Linked DNA regions of Homo sapiens: region 1 is linked to region 2. The links are contacts of gene promoters, found by promoter capture Hi-C in human tissues and cell types (Jung and others, 2019). All regions are on one chromosome and are shown on one strand. Each heading gives the region's core, a stretch centred on a gene start or on the middle of the fragment in contact. The rest is flanking DNA. Distances are from core to core; before and after follow the strand shown. Region 1 overlaps FOXN3 (forkhead box N3). Region 2 holds the start of NRDE2 (NRDE-2, necessary for RNA interference, domain containing).

What was found. Contacts are between HindIII fragments. The study calls those that stand out against the background at their distance.
Region 1: a contact is called between a fragment that was not itself captured here and the fragment with the promoter of NRDE2 in region 2, in 1 of the 25 tissues and cell types used here (lymphoblastoid cells).

The regions. Positions count from the first base shown.
Region 1 is chr14:89,286,625-89,291,447 of GRCh38, forward strand. The region is part of intron 3 of FOXN3 (forkhead box N3); the gene reads right to left. It also overlaps the pseudogene CAP2P1. Among named protein-coding and RNA genes, the nearest start is that of FOXN3-AS3, 61 kb to the right of the region's middle. The HindIII fragment of the contact is 8,255 bases long and covers 1-4,823 here.
Region 2 is chr14:90,330,435-90,335,080 of GRCh38, forward strand. It overlaps NRDE2 (NRDE-2, necessary for RNA interference, domain containing), which reads right to left and starts at 1,507. Exons shown (of 14, transcript NM_017970.4): 1 at 1,407-1,507. The coding sequence starts at 1,470. RefSeq lists an enhancer at 1,261-1,440 and a silencer at 1,591-1,740. The HindIII fragment of the contact is 6,388 bases long and covers 1-4,041 here.

The DNA of each region.
Region 1 (4,823 bases), core at 1,392-3,891, 1.0 Mb before region 2:
ACAAAAAATCCTTGAAATTCCATTGTTTTGCCTTATAACTGGGGATTAATCACCAGGAAATAATAGAAAACCAAATGTGACCTACGCCACAATGTAACAGGGGCTCTCTGAGTGAAGGATGTCACTCGCTGGCATTTGGAACACGGCAACCAGAGCAGGCTGGACAGAGACGTGTGTGGGAAGCTTCACAAAATACCACTCACCGTTTGAGAAGCATCACTAAGAACACAGATGAAAGTTCAGATTCTCGGGGACACTCTTGACACTTTTCTAACCTTCCAAAGAAGCTTGAGTGTCCCGGCAATTAAAAGGGATCTCTGTGGCCACAGGGTCCAATCCAGGGTGAAGTGGAGAGACCGTGGGATTTGGACTCAGAAATTTTGTTTAAAACACAGACTGAAAGTCTTTTAACTTGTCAAAGTCTCAATTCCATGCCTGCAAGCCGGGGGCAATGTGTGAGAATAAAATGAGATGATGGGGGAAAAAAATTGCTTTCTAGACTGCAAAAATCCCAAAGGTGGTTTTTCTTTTAGTTGTTTTTGTTTTTGAGACAGAGTCTTGCTCTGTCGTTCAGACTGGAGTGCAGTGGTGTGATCTGGGCTCACTTCAACCTCTGCCTCCCGGGTTCAAGCAATTCTCCTGCCTTAGCCTCCCGAGTAGCTGTGATTACAGGCATGCACCACCATGCCTGGCTACTTTTTGTAATTTTAGTAGAGACACAGTTTCGCCATTGGCCAGGCTTGTCTCGAACTCCTGACCTCAAGTGATCCTCCTGCCTTGGCCTCCCAGAGTGCTGGGATTACAGGTGTGAGCCACGCCCAGCCCCAGTGGTAGTCTTGATTGCAAGCAAACCCCAGTTCAGAGTTAACTGACACACTCAAGGCCACACAGCAACATTGTGGCCATTGTCAGGTGGGCACCAGCACTTCCTCCTAGACATCCTTAACTCTCCCAACTTGGCCCGTTTTTCCATTCCTGTGACAGATGAGGTAACTGCACTTTTCCTTTTTTCTTTAAGGATTCTTGGAGATGTTCTAATTGCAAATATTTCTCAGTCTAAAGTAGCAACACTTACTAAATATCCAAGAAGCAACTTCACAGATGTCACTTACTCTAAAGAATGCTAAAAAAAAAAAAAAAAAAAAAAAGTAACTGTTGGCTCACCCCTGTAACCTCAGCACTTTGGGAGGTCTAGGCAGGAAGATCACTTGAGCCCAGGAGTTTGAGACCAGCCTGGGAAACGTTAAAAATAAAACATTTTTTTATTCTACAAAAAATAAACAAAATCAGCCCAGTGTGGTGGCATGTGCCTGTGGTCTCAGCTACTCAGGAGGCTGAGGTGGGTGGATCGCTTGAGCCCAGGAGCTCCAAAGCTGCAGTGAGCCTTGATCACACCACTGCACTCCAGCCTGGGCAACAGAGCAAGACCCTGTCTCAAAAAAAAATATATATATATATAGCTCCATGCAGAATCCTGCAAAGATCCAAAATGGGCACGCGATCAAGAGACAGAAAGAGACCAGGTAGAAACCTACCAAGAGTGGCCCATTTCAGAGGATGACAATTGCTGAGGAGGCATGACTGAAGTGATCAGACCACAACCAACCAGGCCCACCAACACTATAACTGAGTGTGTGGCAAGATTACTCAGAGGGCAATGCACCAATCAAGATAAGAAATGGAATTGCTCTGTAAACTTAGCCAAATGTTGACACTGGAGACTCAACTGATTTCAAAGGTATCAGCCTGCACATAGTTCTTGTATGCCCAATACCACCAGGACCCATGAGAATCTGACAGGTGGCAGCTGCTCTGGCACCATATCTATCGAGCTATTTTATTTTACTTTTAAACAATTATCATTTTACTTTATTTCAGAATAAGTTTACAGTTGAAAAATGATGTTTACTATCAACATTATACGAACAAAACTTTTATAGCAAAACCTTGGTATGTGAGCATTAATAATCCAAATACTACACAGATATAGAAGATATTTTAAAAATGGAAACGACATACTCCAAAGGCTGTAATAGGCACTCTCTTTCTCTCTCTCTCTCTCTCTCTCTCTCTCTCTCTCTCTCTCTCTCTCTCTCTCTCTATATATATATATATATATATATATATATATATATATATATATATGCTTGCACTGGGTCCGTAAGCATTATACTATAATTCATTAAATGTCATCCAAGAAGTTGCAGATTTTTCAACACTACGTACTGAAAAGATACAAAGGACTATCATAATTTCTCTTAACATTGAAAAAAACATGGGGCCGGGTGTGGTGGCTCACACCTGTAATCCCAGTTGGGAGGCGCAAGTGGGCGGATCCCTTGAGGCCAGGAGTTCGAGACCAGCCTGACCAACATGGCGAAATCCTGTCTGTACTAAAAATACAAAAATTTGTTGGGCATGGTGGTGGGCGCCTATAACCCTAGCTACTCAGGAGGCTTAGGCACAAGAATCGCTTGAACCCAGGAGGCAGAGGTTGCAGTGGGACGAGATCATGCCACTGTACTCCAGCCTGGGTGACAGAGTGAAATTCTGTCTCAAAAAAAAAAAAAAAAGAAAAGAAAAAGAAAAGAAAAGAAAAAGCATGTATTAGCAAGACTACAAAATCAGAGCAGAAAGCCAAACTAACAAATAATTCCTTAGGCTTTAGGAGAAGTAATACATCCATGGCTTTTCTCATGTTCATTTTTGCGACTGGTTAGCAAGTCTGGCAGGCAGAAAAGAAAAAATTAGACTATAATAAAACATTAAAGACACCATTTAGAAGACATCTGACATTTAACATGTTCAAAATTGGAAAACAGACACTGAGCTTGATTTTTGGGCAACACTGCGAGGTACTACATAGCAAAAGCACTGTTTCCTCCCATCAATCTGTTGACACAAAAATCTCTTATGCAGAAAAGTAAGTTTTCAAATGACACGGTAGAAATACATATAAGATGAATAATTCAAATTTATACTTTTGGTTTTTAGTAACTATAAAGAATATAGGTCTTTCAAGGACAAAGAACCTGAATTTGGTCCTTAATATGAAATGTTCTTACATCTTTTAAAAGCGTGGGCGGAAATACGTACTCCTGCTGACAGCATATCCACACTGCCAAAGGTGAACATGTGCTCACGATAAGAAAAAAACTGTACATTTCTCAGGGCACATTACTACTACATCATATTGAAATTGTCTAAAAGATAAAAATGTACATCTTAGTTTATTTTTCAACAAGCAATTGAACATACGTGGAAAATTGAATCATGCAGTATTTTTACCTATCAGTTACTATGTTTGTGATATGAGGGGAACAGACTTCTTTTTTTTCCCTTTAAATCCATAATGTTCACAAGTCACCACGTGGAACTAAAATCGCACACACACAGGCAAATCATGAAGAAATGTTAAGTACTTCAAAATGCCCACAAAGTCGTGCCAGAAACGATGCTGTGTCTATAGCACAGAATTGTCGGAGGCCAAAACTAAAGTGGAAGGTGCTTCTGCAACTTCCAGTTCTTTACTGCTACTTTTTTATTTGTTTGATGGAGGGACTCAGGTGAGGGGGTTCACTGACCAACTTGGATCCATCCCATGCTGTCTTGAACTGCTCAGGGACAGGAAATTCTCTGTCATTACCACCCTGACGAATAAGTATATTCATTTTGGATGATATGATGCTCACAATCTCACAGTCTAATGCATCTTCCCCGAGTTAGGTATGTGTGGCAACCTTCTGTCTTATTAGTGGAAATTGCTGGTACTCTCCCCATTACCTGGATTTGAATGTACTTGGAGTTGGTCATTTCCCCAATGCCCACCAAACTGTCAAAGACCAGACCAAACTTCTTACAGTTTTCCACTGGAATGGAGTTTACTTTCCCTTTCATCGGGAGAGCTGATTTTTCACAATTGAAAATGTAAGCCACTTGTTTCAGCTCAGTCTCTGAAATCACAAGGTCATTCCTGTCTTCTTGGTACTCTGCTCTCCATTTACTTCCTTCCAACTTGAACACGGGTGCATGTTGCTGGGAAGGATGAGGTTTGGGAGATGTGGGACTTGGAATGTAGCTTCTGTGGGGAGACGTACTTTGCCCTCCGTGAGCCTGCAGGCTGGGATTCTTATATAGGCCTTCTGGTCATCAGTGATGTGCCAGAGCCCTGGTTCTGCAGGGTTAGGCTTCTCCCTGGTTAAACCGGGCAAATAAAGCTGAGCATGAAGGAGAGGACTTTTCTTTTGTGTCTTCATTCTCAAAAAGTGGAGGGGCCCTGGAGGAGGTGAGGAGGATGTGGAGAAAGGTCAGGCCCTCAGGAGAGAACAGAAAGCGCTGATGTGGGTGCTGCGGACCTGTTCTGCTCCACGTGAGGCCCGTGGTGTGGTGCTCCTTGACTCATGCTTGAAACTCACTCCAAATGTTCACATATGACCTCACCCAATCCACACGGTGTAAATCATGTTTGTAGCCCTTTAAGACCCTGTTAGTGTAAAAGGTGGCAGCATCACACATCTCGTTGACGTAAGTACCCAAGTTGGGGGGCACAGTTATGCAGCCAAGGGCAGGGAGGCTTTTGCTGACATCCGAGAGATGACTAAACATGTTACTCCCTCGGTTTCTCTCTTTGAAGGTTTGGACTTCTGAATCTTTTCTGATTTGGGTTTCAGAAATGCAGCCACGCATTCTCTCGGGGTTGTTGGTCATGAGATGCCATCAGAAGGAAAGCCCTGTAACACCCTTTCTGCATAAGTCTCCATGTCACCAGCAAGGATGCTACTGTTCTTTAAAAACTTGGCCACCATGCTGTTCATCAGCTTATC
Region 2 (4,646 bases), core at 257-2,756:
GAATAGACAAACACTGCCCAACCTGATAGAGATTACAGTCTAGTAAGGGAAGACAACAATTTTACACAAGAAATTACTCACAATTATGAGAAATAGGACAAGCGCAGTGGCTCATGCCTGTAATCCTAGAACTTTGGGAGGCTCAGATAGAGAATCGCTTGAGCTCAGGAGTTCGAGACCAGCCTGGTCAACACAGTGAGACCTCGTCTCTACTAAATATTAAAAAAAATTAGCCAGGCCTGGTGGTGCACACCAGTAGTTCCAGCTATTCATGAGGCTGAGGCAGGAAGTTAAGCCCAGGAGTCTGAGGCGGCAGTGAGTTATGACAGTGCCACTGTACTCCAGCCTGGGCAACAGAGTGAGACCCTGTCTCAAAAAAAAAAAAAAAAATTAGGAGAAACGTTACAGAAAGTGTAGGAACTATATTAGAGGATATAACAGACAGGTAAGACTCAATTGCGCCCTGTCACATATGGCACATAATTTAGAATTACTTTTTTTTCTTTTTTTTTTAGAGACAAGGTCCCCCCACCCCAGGGCAGGATGCAGCGGCACGATCATGGCTCACTGCGGCCTCAAACTTCTGGGCTCAAGCAATCCTCCTACCTCAGCCTCCTGAGGAGCTGATACTATAGGTGTGCACCACCACGCCTGGCTTTTTTTTTAAGAGACAGGAGTCTCGCTATGTTGATCATGATGGTCATGAACTCCCGGGCTCAAACTATCCTTCCACCTACAGGTGTGGGCCACTGCTCCTGGCCAGGATTAATTACTTCTTAAATGAACTATGTACCCCAATTTTGAACAATGCAGCTCTGCTGGAAATGTCTGGGACTTAAGTAAAATGTGTAAAGCCATAACCTGATACACACTAGGCCCTCAAGAATAAATGTTAGTTATTTTCACTGGGTGCTGTGCCCCTCCAGAGAGAAACTGATTAGGTTTTGGATACTAATCCCCTAGCTCTAGGCCGCTAAGTAATACCAATCTAATAAGCATTTCAGAAATAAGTATAACAGGAAAGGAAGTAATATGTAATAAAAACATTCTGCATTTGCATCAAGGGTTTCCTCGAGATGTCGAGTATCATTATTCCCAATTTAAAGATGAAGTAACTGAGGCTCGAAAAGAAGAACAGGACCTAACAACATCGTACAGAAGTCCCAGCTCCAGGGCATCTGCTGGTCTTTCTCCACCCCTCCATAACTCTACAACCTTGGTCCAGAACAGGCCTCTGGGCCCCAGACCTCGGAGGGATTGAGCCTTTCCCAGAAGGCTTTGCAGCGCCGCGGAGAACTCTGGGATACAAATGGATACACAAATCCAAAGCAAAAGTCTAGACCTGGGCCCGAGAAACAGCCTCTTAAGCCCCCCAGGTGCCTTCTTCGGCTCGTTTGTGTGCTTACCTTTCCTGGAGCTCCCGCCATCGGGAGCCTCACTAAGCCCCGCAAAGGCTGGGAACAGCGCCATGACCACAGGCCGTACCTCCGTTCTTCTCTATAGGGATGGCGCCGGCGAGCGAGCGCCGGTCTGAGGACCCCTGCCGTCGCGGTGCACTCTGGGAAATGTGGTTTTCGCGGCGCTCTCTGGGGCTTGACCCCGAAGCGGGAGGGGCGGGGCCCAGAGAGGAGGGTCGTCAAGGGACTGGGGCGCGGCGGGGCAGGGAGAGGCAGGGCAAAGCAGGGTGGGGCGGGGCCAAGGGGGGCGGAGCGAGGAGTGACGGGTTCCTAGTGGTTGGGACCCTGTGAGAACCGGAACTGCGAAAACCGGAGAAGGGAATTGTTGACCGCGAAAGGGACTAAGGAAATTGGGATTCCAGTTCGACCCCTAAATTCACACCATCCTTGCTAACTGGGTCAACTTAAACGCTCTAAGCATTACTTTCCTTATCTGCAAAATATTGAGAAGATTAAATGAACATATTTATAAAGGGCCTAGCATTGAGTCCGGCCCATGAAAAGCACTTAATATGTGTTAGCTATTATGTGAATTACGACTGCAAGTTCGGCTCAAAGTCATGTGAGATATCCGAACTTCAATCAGGTTACCATATTAAATACCCCAGAACAAGGAAAAATGGAAAGTCCCATCAAGTTCAAGGGTCTTTGATAGTTAGGAAATACCTGTCTGTGAAGCATTCTTGACCCCGGTTCCTCCCACCCAAAATCTAATCACACTTGCTACCAGAAATATAGAGAGTAAAGGAACAACTTAGAAGACTTTGTACTACCAAGAAACAATTAGCCAAATCTAGAATATGGGAAATTATAGAAAACAACCGTGCTTCCTTAACATATCAAGGGCTTTAAGAGGGCAGGAGATTGTAATAGATACGAAGATCTTACAGACACATCAAGCAAATACAACATATTTGTGGCCTCATTATAATTCTGATTGGACAAACTGTAAAAAGACCTTTTTAAGATAGATGGAGAAATAAGAAGGTAGGCAGAGTACAAGCAATTCACAAGTAATTCTTGTGAATTCTGTTAGATGTACTAAAGTACTTATGTCACTGAGGTGACCCTTATTTATTTATTTTGAGACAAGGTCTCCTTCTGCCACCCAGGCTGGAGTGTAGTGGTACGATCTCTGCTCACTGCAGCTTCGAACTCCTCGATTCAAGCAATCCCCTCACCTCAGCCTCCCAAGTGGCTGGAACCACAGGCATACACCACCATGTCTGGCTTAATTTTTTTTTTTTTAATAGAGACAGGGTTTCACCATGTTGCCCAGGCTGGTCTCGAACTCCTGGGCTCAAGCGATCTGCCCCCCTCTGCCTCCCAAAGTGCTGGGTGCCTGTGCCTGAGCACCCCCCAACCCAGCCTGAGATTACTTTTTAAAGTTCTTATATATTAGAGATATATACTGAAATATTTGCAAGTGAAAATAGATAGGTAAATGAAGATATATTTATTGGGATCCTAGGGAGTTAAAGATCTTTAGTTAGGAAATACATTATAAACCAGAGATGCAAATGTAATCATCTAATCAAGGAATGGATGGACTCTGATGAAGTCTGCAGACCTGCATAAGAATTAGGTTCTATGAGTCCAAAATAGACACCCTTAATGCTTTGAAGTCCCTGGCAGAGTACTTACAAAAAGGAGCTTAGTATGACAATAGGGGCAGTAATTCCTGTATGTCTTCAACTTTAAATCTCAGGTTCTGCCAAAATCTTTGACTCTAAGTTACCTCAATTAATTGGGGCAGCATTTGTCTTTCTTAGCAGATCACTTCAGGTAACTGGGATGGAAATAGTCTATCCCAATGCCTCCTATCTTTCCACCCCAGAAAAGTAAGAATTAATATGGAAGTTTTAAGAAATTAAAACCATAATAATAATGTTTCTGTAATACAAAGGAATCTGGGTATACTAGGTATATTGTGTACTTACAAATGTATAAGAGAATGTTGCTCAAGAGACCCTCCTCATAAGAACAACTGAAAGTGTATAATCAAGTAACTGATACAGACTCCTGGTTTTAAGTTAAAATCTTTTTGTGTTTGTTTTGTTTTTGAGACAAGATCTCCTCTCTCGCCCAGGCTGGAGTGCAGTGGTGCGATCATGGCTCACTCCAGTCTCGACCATCTGCCTCAGCACCCCGAAGTGCTGGGATTATAGGTGTGAGCCACCATGGCCGGCAGTAAATTGAAATCTTAATGAGGTTTAAGCAGTTTCAGGATATCCAAGAGAATCTAAAGCTCGCCATATTTGTAAGTGTAATTGGTTAGCTTTATAAGAATAATGGGGTCCTATTGCAGGAGCATGAGGGAGGCTGAAGATTCCATTTCGAGGCAGCTCTGAGCTCACGAAATAGACACCATGAGCAAAGCTCACCCTCCCTAGTTGAAAAAAGCTTTTGGACAAGAAGTTAGAAGCCTTAGAATGAGTATAAATAATGGCTGTTCAACAATAATAATAACAATAGGAACAAACTACTGATACATACAACATGAATGAATCTCAAAATTGGTATGCTGGGTATAAAAAGCCAGGCACAAAGAGTGTTTACTGTGTTATTCTCTTTATACAAAATCCTAGAAAATACAAATTAATATATAGTGACAGAGAGTGGATCGGTGTTTCCCTTGCTCTGGGAACGAAGAGAGGGATATTCCACAGAGGGGTGTGGAGAATGTTTTGGGCTTGATGGAAATATTCTGACTCTTGTTTATGGTGGGGGTATCACAGGTGTGTAACTGACCAAGTTCTTAAAAGCTTAAGAACAAACAAGGGTTTTCAATTTGTTTTTAATACATTGGATGCCAATCTTTTAAACACTGTGTCTGCAAATTTTTTTCTGGAAAGAGTCACATAAAACATATGGTATTGGCTGGATGCAGTGGCTCACACCTGTAATCCCAGCACTTTAGGAGGCTGAGGCGGGTGGATCACTTGAGGTCAGGAGTTTGAGACCAGCCTAGCCAACATAGTGAAACCCCCGTCTCTACTAAAAATACGAAAATTAGCCGGGAGTGGTGGCAGGCACCTGTACTCCCAGCTACTCAGGAGGCTGAGGCAGGAGAATTGCTTGAACTTGGGAGGCAGAGGTTACAGTGAGCCAAGATCGTGCCACTGCACTCCAGCCTGGGCAACAGAGCATGACTCCACCTAAAAAAAAAAAAGACATGTGGTCGCAACC